Regions from separate parts of the Homo sapiens genome. Here all the other regions are linked to region 3. Evidence: promoter capture Hi-C in 16 types of primary human blood cells and fetal thymus (Javierre and others, 2016). All regions are on one chromosome and are shown on one strand. Each heading gives the region's core, a stretch centred on a gene start or on the middle of the fragment in contact. The rest is flanking DNA. Distances are from core to core; before and after follow the strand shown. Region 1 overlaps SRBD1 (S1 RNA binding domain 1). Region 2 overlaps CAMKMT (calmodulin-lysine N-methyltransferase). Region 3 holds the start of SIX3 (SIX homeobox 3).

Region 1 (2,743 bases), core at 210-2,709, 550 kb before region 3:
TCCTGTCCCAGTATCAACCAGGCCCTTGCCTCTTGCCTAGTCGAATGCCACTTACGCATCAGGTCTTGTGTTTGGTCCTGTGGCAGTTTTTTTCTTTAGTTTCCTTAGTGGTACCATTAAATACTTTATGGTATGGCAACAACTTTATGTTGGTATCAGATACAGGTAGAGAAAAAAGATAAAAGAGGGATTTTGAAAGAGAAAAGCAGAATGCGGGGAGAGAGGGAAGAGAGAGAGAGAGTGAGATGCTTACTGTGGAAGGTAAGGGGAAACAATTTCTGCTTACGCCATTCTTTGTTGAAATTTCTTCTACCTCAGTAGAGGTACTTAATCTACAAATAGGAAACAAACTTTCCATCTTTTTTGTCCTTCAGTTTGTTGATTTGCTTTTCCCCATGATGGCATTTGAAGGTACCATTGAGTTTGTCATCTCTGTGAAGTTTGGAACCCCAAAATCCAAATTAAAGCTCTGCTTTTTAGTTGGTAATTCGGGTCTGTCCATTTTAGGTTTATTTTGTGGTTGGAAAGTGTTCTTTTCATCCACTGTGGTATGGGGCACCAAAAGAGAAGTAGCCAAGATAATTCTGTTCTTTTGAAAGACTGCTCTGTAGCTAAGATTTGATAGGATGTCCATCCTGGAGTATACTTAGATCCTCTGGTTGGTAGACTTTTTATTTTCTCCCAGGCTTGGTGTGGATCCTCTGTGTGATAACTGTACCACTACTAGAGTTGTTCTCTGTGGAAAATGATCATCTTTTTTGAAACATAACAAACTTAAAAAAACAAAAACAAAACGCTGGTAATTGAAGAATTGCTTCTAACTTGTCCTCCACCAGATGGTGCTAGTGTTACGTATCTAAAGGTAAACTCCTTTGGTATTGAAGTAAGGAGGTTGTGTATTTTCTTTCTCTTTTTCTGCCTCACCATATTTTGCCCTTAGTACTTTTTCATACATGCTACTTTCCTGGCATACTGCTGCATCACTTCACATATTTTATATTGTAGATAGTGAGCTGGTTATGCCTTAGTGATCATGAAGGATAACTTGGGAGGCCAAGTAAAATTCAAGAGGGCAAGGACCAAGTGAAATTTAAGGATGTATAATTTGTATTTTCTTATAAGATTTTTTTAATCATTCATTTGCTTCTTAAATGGCCTGTGTGTAAAAGTTGAGAACTTATTCTTGACTTTTCTGCTTAGCTATCTTTCTTTTATGTTATCATAATGATGTCATAAAATGTCATTGCTTGAGATCTTCTACAAACAAATGATGTATTTACCAAGATTTAAGTTCACAATAACTTTAAAAGAAAGCTTGGTAAATTAAAAAAAAAAAGTTGGCCATTATCTGATATGATTCCCTGACCAATTAATAATTGTTCTTACATTTTTAAACCTTTTCTGATTACATATGAGTATTACATGGTTATTGCAGAAAAACTTAAACAAGAATACAATTAAAGTAATAATACATGTTTAAATACTATTAACATTATATTACATAAGCCTGCTTTTTCTTTACCCAGTTTTAACTTAATAATTTATCATAAATATTTTACATGAGATAAAAATATTTTACAATAATAATTCTTAATGAAAGCTTAATTAAATGAACACTGTAATGATAGGCATTTTTTTCCACTTTGTTTCAGTCACAGTTGTGCTATCATAAATAGTGCAGTTTAATTTTTTTGAATTTTTACATTTCATTTGCATGTATTGCTAAAAATATAATAGCTAGTTCAGAGAGAATGTACATTTTTGTGATTTTTGATCTGATTTTCAATTTACCATCCAAAGAGTTCTGCAGTTTGAAAGTCTTTGACGGGACATGATTCTGCTTGTTTCCGTATGTCCTCTTAATCACTAGATTACCTAATTTATTTTATTTTTTTTTTTTTTTGAGTTGAAGTTTCATTCTTGTTGCCCAGGATGGAGTGCAGTGGCGCGATCTTGGCTCACTACAACCTTCACCTTCCAGATTCAAACGATTCTGCCTCAGCCTCCTGAGTAGCTGGGATTACAGGCATGTACCACCACGCTTGGCTGATTTTTTTTTTGTATTTAGTAGAGACTGGGATTCACCATGTTAGTCAGGCTGGTCTTGAACTCCTGACCTCAGGTGATCCACCCACCTGGGCCTCCCAAAGTGCTGGGATTACAGGTGTGTGCCACCGTGCCTGGCCTTACCTAAGTTTTTAAGATGACTAGATATTGCTCATTTGAGAATCCTTGAAATGATAATTCATCATTACATAAAAGAATTTAAAATTGCTTTGATATTTTCTTAGAAGTAAGCTCTACCCTTTAAGCATTAAATCTCAGAGCCCCCACTGTTCGTGGTAGTTTAGTTTTTGGCCTTGTCTCCTATCCCTAAAATACAAACAGCTATTCTTTTGATACTTCAGAACAGGTTATCTCATATGCAAATAATTAAGATTTATGTTGGTTCATGTTTTTAGTGCTTTGTATTACTCGTTGAGAAACCTAGTGCAAGTCATTTAACCTCTCACGATATGTTTCTCAGTCTGACAAGTTGGAAGAATGTTTTTTAGATAAATTATTTTTAAAACTTTGAGATGAGCTAGGCATTTGGCATAGTGGCTTTTTAATACCTTCATTTTTGATAGGCAGAAGGAAGGAAAAGGGGAAGATGCTAGATATTTGTAGAGCCTGAAGAATTCTAATATACTTTTGTAAAGAATTAAAAAGGTATCAGTCAGTGTTGAGTAATTATATCCCA
Region 2 (2,700 bases), core at 149-2,648, 570 kb after region 3:
GGGCTCAATCAATCTTTCCACCTCAGCCTCTGGAGTAGCTAAGACCATAGGCACATGCCACCATGCCCAATTAATTTTTGTATTTTTTGTAAAGGTGGGGTTTTGCCATGTTGCCCAGGCTGGTCTTGAACTCCTAGGGTCAAGTGATCCACCCACCTTGGCCTCCTGAAGTGCTAGGATTACAGGCATGAGCCACTGCGCCCAGCCGGCATTTTCAGTAAAATAGTATTATAAAACCAGATTCTAATTGTTCTTTCCTGCCCAACCTAGTCAATTTTTATCCAAATCCCAATTTTTAGCTATTATGTTTTAAAGCTTAGATATTCTAAACTAAAATAGCTCGAGAAACATATACTATAAAAAGATACCCTTTGTGAAAATTTTTTTCTTAAAATTATTCCTAGCCTCACCTAAACCTTATTCAGTCACATTTACACTTAAAATGTTTTTTGCTCTTCTTACAGTTACTGTAAATGTGCTCCTCCCTCCCTTTCAAAATGTGAAATACTGTCAGAAAAGGCAGATTTTATAAAATCAAACACCTACAGTAATATTGCAACATGCTAGAACATAACTGTGAGAGAAAATTAATTCAGTAAAATGGTATCTTGTTATTGCAGTCTGTAACTCTCTTGTCTCTTTTCTAATGATTTTTAAAGTCAGAACAGTCCATATGCTTCTTACAATATCAGTGTTTTCAGTTGAATTTTCTCCTTTAGTCTTAAGATTGATTCTATTCTGAAAGTAATAAAAAAATAAATAAATGGAAAAAATACCAAAGCTTGATTTTTCAGATTATTACTTGAAGGGTAGTTTGGAAAAATTCTGTTTTCACTTTCAGCCCCTTCTTTGCCTCAGAACAAACATGGCTTTTTGTCATAAACAAATGTTATGACAGAATGTTTAAATGAACCCTTTGATTTGCAACCACCTTATCTTCAAATGCCACTATATTTGTGAGAACTTGTTTCCTTTAGTCTGATAATACAGCAAGACCCAGTTAAAATAGCAGGATTTCCTAAAACAAGTTGTAAAACCTAAGTTCTGAAAAAGATTGCCCGTAAACTCAATAGAATAAATAATGATGATTCTTATTAGATTGTTTTTCTTATCCAAGAGAAATCTAGTGTTTACAAAATCTTAACTAGAATAATGGTTACCTTAAGGAGATACTGTATTCAGGACAGAAGATGCTTGTATATTGGACCCATGCACCAACCTCCTCTTCAGTTTCCCTTTCTTTGCCTTCTGTTACTGAAAACAGATTAAATGATTCAAATCTTCTTACAGATACATGTCGCAGGCAATCATCCAGGTGTTTTTGCTTCAGAACCTTTGAAATAAAGCCAAATATTGCAGTCATGTTATCTAAACATATAGTAAGTTTAGTGTTCAAAATGTTCAAAATTTAAGTGGTAAGGGGACTTTCCCTTCTAATAATGACAGATTAGATAATTCAGATATATCTCCTACTGAAGATAACTATAAAAGATGAACAAAATATTTTAAAGCATTACTTGAAGACATCAGAGAGCAAAGACAGTGAAGATTTACAAGTCTGATATCTTTTTTTTTTTTTTTTGAGACAGGATCTTACTTTGTCACGCAGCCTCACTGTCACCCAGCCTGTCACCCAGCTGGGTTCAGGCGATCCTCCTACCTCAGGCTCCCTAGCAGCTGGAACTAAAAGTATGCACCACCACGTCTGGTTAATTTTTTAAATTTTTTGTAGAGATGGGGTCTCCCTATATTACCCAGGCTGGATTCAAACTCCTGGGCTCAAGTGATCTTCAACCCTGGCCTCCCAAAGTGCTGGGATTACAGAAGTGAGCCACAGCACTTGGCTTGCAGTCTTATATCTTTAAAAGGAGAAAACCTACAAAGGTTACTCTGACTTTTGCAACCACTTTTCTCCTGGGGATATGTGTCAATTCTAAAAGAAAGAACCAAGAAGATAAGCTGCTTCTTTAACAACCTATGGAGCTAGGAGAGAAAAGTTGAATTTCAAAGCTTACCTAGGAATGGGGAGGTATATTGAGTATGCAAGGTATGTATGTTTTAGCATAATGAATAATTTTGCTGGTGTTGCTAAAAGCCAGGTTTTTAAGTGTGGGGCATATCAACCAATAATAATGCTTGGATTTTATTTGGATCCTCCTCCAAAATAATCAAATTATAAAGAAAAATTATGACAAAATGGGGAAAATTTGAAAACTGATCAGATATTTCATGACATCAATTAATTATTCTGGGTTGATGTGGTATTGTGATTTTTTAATGTCATTTTTATAAGTTCATAATGAAATATTTAAAGAAAAAATGACATCTGAGATTTGCTTCAAAATAATGGTGGTGGGGCAATGGGAGAAGTGAGAATAAACACAGCTGTTCATGAGTTAACAGTGTTGAAGCTTATCAGTACCTGAATGATTATTGTATTGTTCTCTCTAGCTTTATATATGTTTTATATTTCCCATGATAGAAAAATCTTAGATATAAAATAACTTCAGACTCATAAGCAAACAAAAATAAAGAAAAAGATATTTGAAAAGCCAAATATATTTGGAAACTAGGCAATGTACTTATAAATAACCTGTGAAACAGAAAAAGAACACATAATAAAAACTATAGGCCAGGTGCAGTGGCTCATGTCTGTAATCCTAACACTTTGGAAGGCTGAGGCAGGAGGACTGCTTGAGG
Region 3 (2,784 bases), core at 121-2,620:
CCCCCTCTTCCGCGCGTCCCGGACAAGCGGAAACTTTCTCCGACTGGCCAGGAGTCACGGCTTCCCTGGCTCTCAGCGGCCGCTCCGCTAGCCCCATCTCAACCCCTCTCCCCTTCCCAGGCCTCTGAGGCTGTAGCCAGGCCGCGGGCCCCGCCACTAACCTGTTCTTGGCCGCCGCGGCGCGGTCGCGCTGCCGCCGGTTCTTAAACCAGTTGCCTACTTGTGTGGGAGTGAGGCCGGTGGCCTGCGCCAGTTCGCGTTTCTTGCTGGGGTTGGGGTAGGGGTCCTGTAGGTACCACTCCCGCAACAGGCTCCGAGTCCGCTCCTTGAAGCAATGCGTCTTCTGCTCGCCGTCCCAGATGGTGCGTGGCAGCGGGAACTTCTTGCGCACGCGGTACTTGTCCACCGGGCCGAGTGGGCGGCCGCGCAGCTTCTCGGCCTCCTGGTAGTGCGCCTCGAGCCACATGGCCTGCAGCTTGCCGTGAGACTCCTTGGTGAACTTGTGGTTCTCAAGGATGTGGTAGAGGTCGCGGAAGTTGCCCGTGTGGAAGGCGACCACGGCGCGCGCGCGCAGGATCGACTCGTGTTTGTTGATGGCCTCGCACGCCCCGGGGGCCACGGGCAGCGACCAGAGGAAGCGGCCCAGCCGCTCGATGTCGCCCGTCTCCTCCAGCGTCTCACAGACGCTGGCCACCTGCTCCGGCGAGAAGTTGAGGGTGGGCAGCTGGAACATGGACAACTCTTCCGGGGGGGCCCTGGAGCCGCCGCCGCCGCCGCCGCCTGCTCCGCCAGCACCGCCGCCTCCCGCACCGTTCCCGCCGCCGCTGCCGCCTCCCGCGCCGCCGCCGCCTCCCGCACCGTTCCCGCCGCCGCTACTCGCCAGAAGTATGGAGCGGTGGTGAGAATCGGCGAAGTTTGGCAACAAGAAGTGGGAGGAATAGAGGTCTAGGGGGGAGCGGAATACCATGGACTGACCTGAGAGGAGAGGAGAAAATTCAGGGAGAGGAAGAGAGAGGGGAGGAAGAGGAGGAGAGGGGCGATGAGGACCAGGAGGAGGGAGAGGAGAGGGGGGAGGAGGAGAAGGAAAGGAGGGGGGAGCAGGAGGAGGAGGGAGAGGAGGAAGGGCGTAAGGGACACCCACACCCCACACACATCCACACACACACACACCCGCGCAGCCACATAGAGAGGGAGGTAGGAGAGCGGCCCGGTGCGCGCGCGCAGAGAGAGAACCCGAGACAGAGAGGGAGAGGGAGAGGGAGAGAGGAGAGGGAGAGCCAACCACCGCCGAGTCAAGATTCAGCGATTCCACCGCAATCGCCCTAATGACAACAGCCTCATAATATCTCCCCTAAATCCACAGTGAGTGCAGCATTGAAACATTTTGTTTCGCTTTTCTATTGGTCTGTGGCGTGTCGTTGTGGCGTTGCCACGGCAACCACTGCCAATCACTGTCAGCCCTGCCAATCAATACCGAGAACGTAAGGACGGTTTTACCACTTAGCCAGAGGGCGGGGGGAGGGGGAGAGCAGGGAAGGAGGGAGAAGTGGGGGGATAAAGAGAATTTTTTTTATCTTTGCAACTCTTAATCTCGCTACCTCCCCCTCCTCTCTTCTCTCTTCTCCCTCTCTCTCCTCTTTTCTCTACCGCTGTCTCTGAGACTTCTTCTTCCCTTTTTCCTAAAGAAGTTGATCCAGAAATTCGAAAAGCCCTGGGCAGAGTTGTTGAATGGGATGTGCAATTAGAGAGGGGATTTTGTTGGGAGGCAAGAGGGTCCCCCAGGCTCCACATAGTCCAGGTCGGCAGGCAAGGAAAGACGGCTGACCAGCCCAGCGGGCGCGGTTTGCACATGGTTTGCACGTCGGGCCGCCTCTTTCTGCCTATGTGAGCACTAATAGTGGCAAGGAAGAAAGGAGAGATGAGATCATGGGGCCCACCAAGCACCGACCTTGGCCCAGCGGGCCGTGGCGCCAGCCGGGGATCCCGGATTCCGAGGGTATCTGGCGCCAGGGAGCCTGAGCCCAATTCCCAGGGTGCTGGAGGCCGCTCTTGCCTCCCCCATCGGTGCCCATGGACCGCATTCACCTCAACTCCCTCTTCATCAATTAGGCTTCTCTTTACTCCCTCCCCGGCCAAGGAGCCTCGATTTCCCCCACCACCCTGTATTTTAAAATAACAGTCCAAACAGTACACTTCTTTCCATCTTAAGAAGCAACTCAACTCTTTGTTTCTTCCCAGAATTCAGCTGCCTCTCTGAGGAGTGGTGGAGGAGCTGCGGGAGCCGAGAAGCCCAAGAGCCCTCTGGACCCAGAAAAGTCCTACAGATGCCCACTCCTCACCACACAACAGAAGGAGCTCTGGTCCTGCCTGCCAGCCCCAGAGGGCACTCAAACTTTGGAGGCCAGCCACCCGGATGAAGTGAATAAGGCCTGAAAATTGCTTGTTTGCTCGTATTGTAAAATAATAATAATTACCATTATTATTTTTAAACTGTCTAATTTCTCTAGGGAAAGTAACATCGAAAGCCTAAAACAGACGCCAAAAGGCCCATAGAACACAGAGGGCCCTCTCTGCCTCTGGCCACCACAGCCCCTAGGCCAGGCATGGGTATTTATTCTTAGGTATGTTGCTTTTAAGAAGCTGTAATCAGCATCTTGAGCCGGGCCTCCCTTTGTGAGGCTTCTGTAACTATGGAAGTGTGATTTACGCAGATTTGTCGGGGTCAGAGACGTCTTTCCCTGAGCACTGTGTATATTTAGACAGGACTCGGTTTGGTGTTAAAAA

Evidence for each region. Contacts are between HindIII fragments. The CHiCAGO score rates a contact against its expected background, and 5 or more counts as called.
Region 1: a fragment that was not itself captured here is called in contact with the fragment with the promoter of SIX3 in region 3 in 1 of 17 cell types (fetal thymus); the score reaches 5.3 in fetal thymus.
Region 2: a fragment that was not itself captured here is called in contact with the fragment with the promoter of SIX3 in region 3 in 1 of 17 cell types (total B cells); the score reaches 5.4 in total B cells.

The regions. Positions count from the first base shown.
Region 1 is chr2:45,492,972-45,495,714 of GRCh38, reverse strand. The region is part of intron 14 of SRBD1 (S1 RNA binding domain 1); the gene reads left to right. Among named protein-coding and RNA genes, the nearest start is that of SRBD1, 120 kb to the left of the region's middle. The HindIII fragment of the contact is 286 bases long and covers 1,317-1,602 here.
Region 2 is chr2:44,371,349-44,374,048 of GRCh38, reverse strand. CAMKMT (calmodulin-lysine N-methyltransferase) reads right to left here. Exons shown (of 11, transcript NM_024766.5): 2 at 1,161-1,333. Among named protein-coding and RNA genes, the nearest start is that of CAMKMT, 11 kb to the right of the region's middle. The HindIII fragment of the contact is 1,229 bases long and covers 784-2,012 here.
Region 3 is chr2:44,940,288-44,943,071 of GRCh38, reverse strand. SIX3 (SIX homeobox 3) reads right to left here and starts at 1,370. Exons shown (of 2, transcript NM_005413.4): 1 at 162-1,370. The coding sequence starts at 967. It overlaps SIX3-AS1 (SIX3 antisense RNA 1), which reads left to right and starts at 1,194. Exons shown (of 2, transcript NR_103786.1): 1 at 1,194-1,362; 2 at 2,239-2,784. RefSeq lists enhancers at 1-327, 1,410-1,936, 2,705-2,784. The HindIII fragment of the contact is 26,724 bases long and covers 1-2,784 here.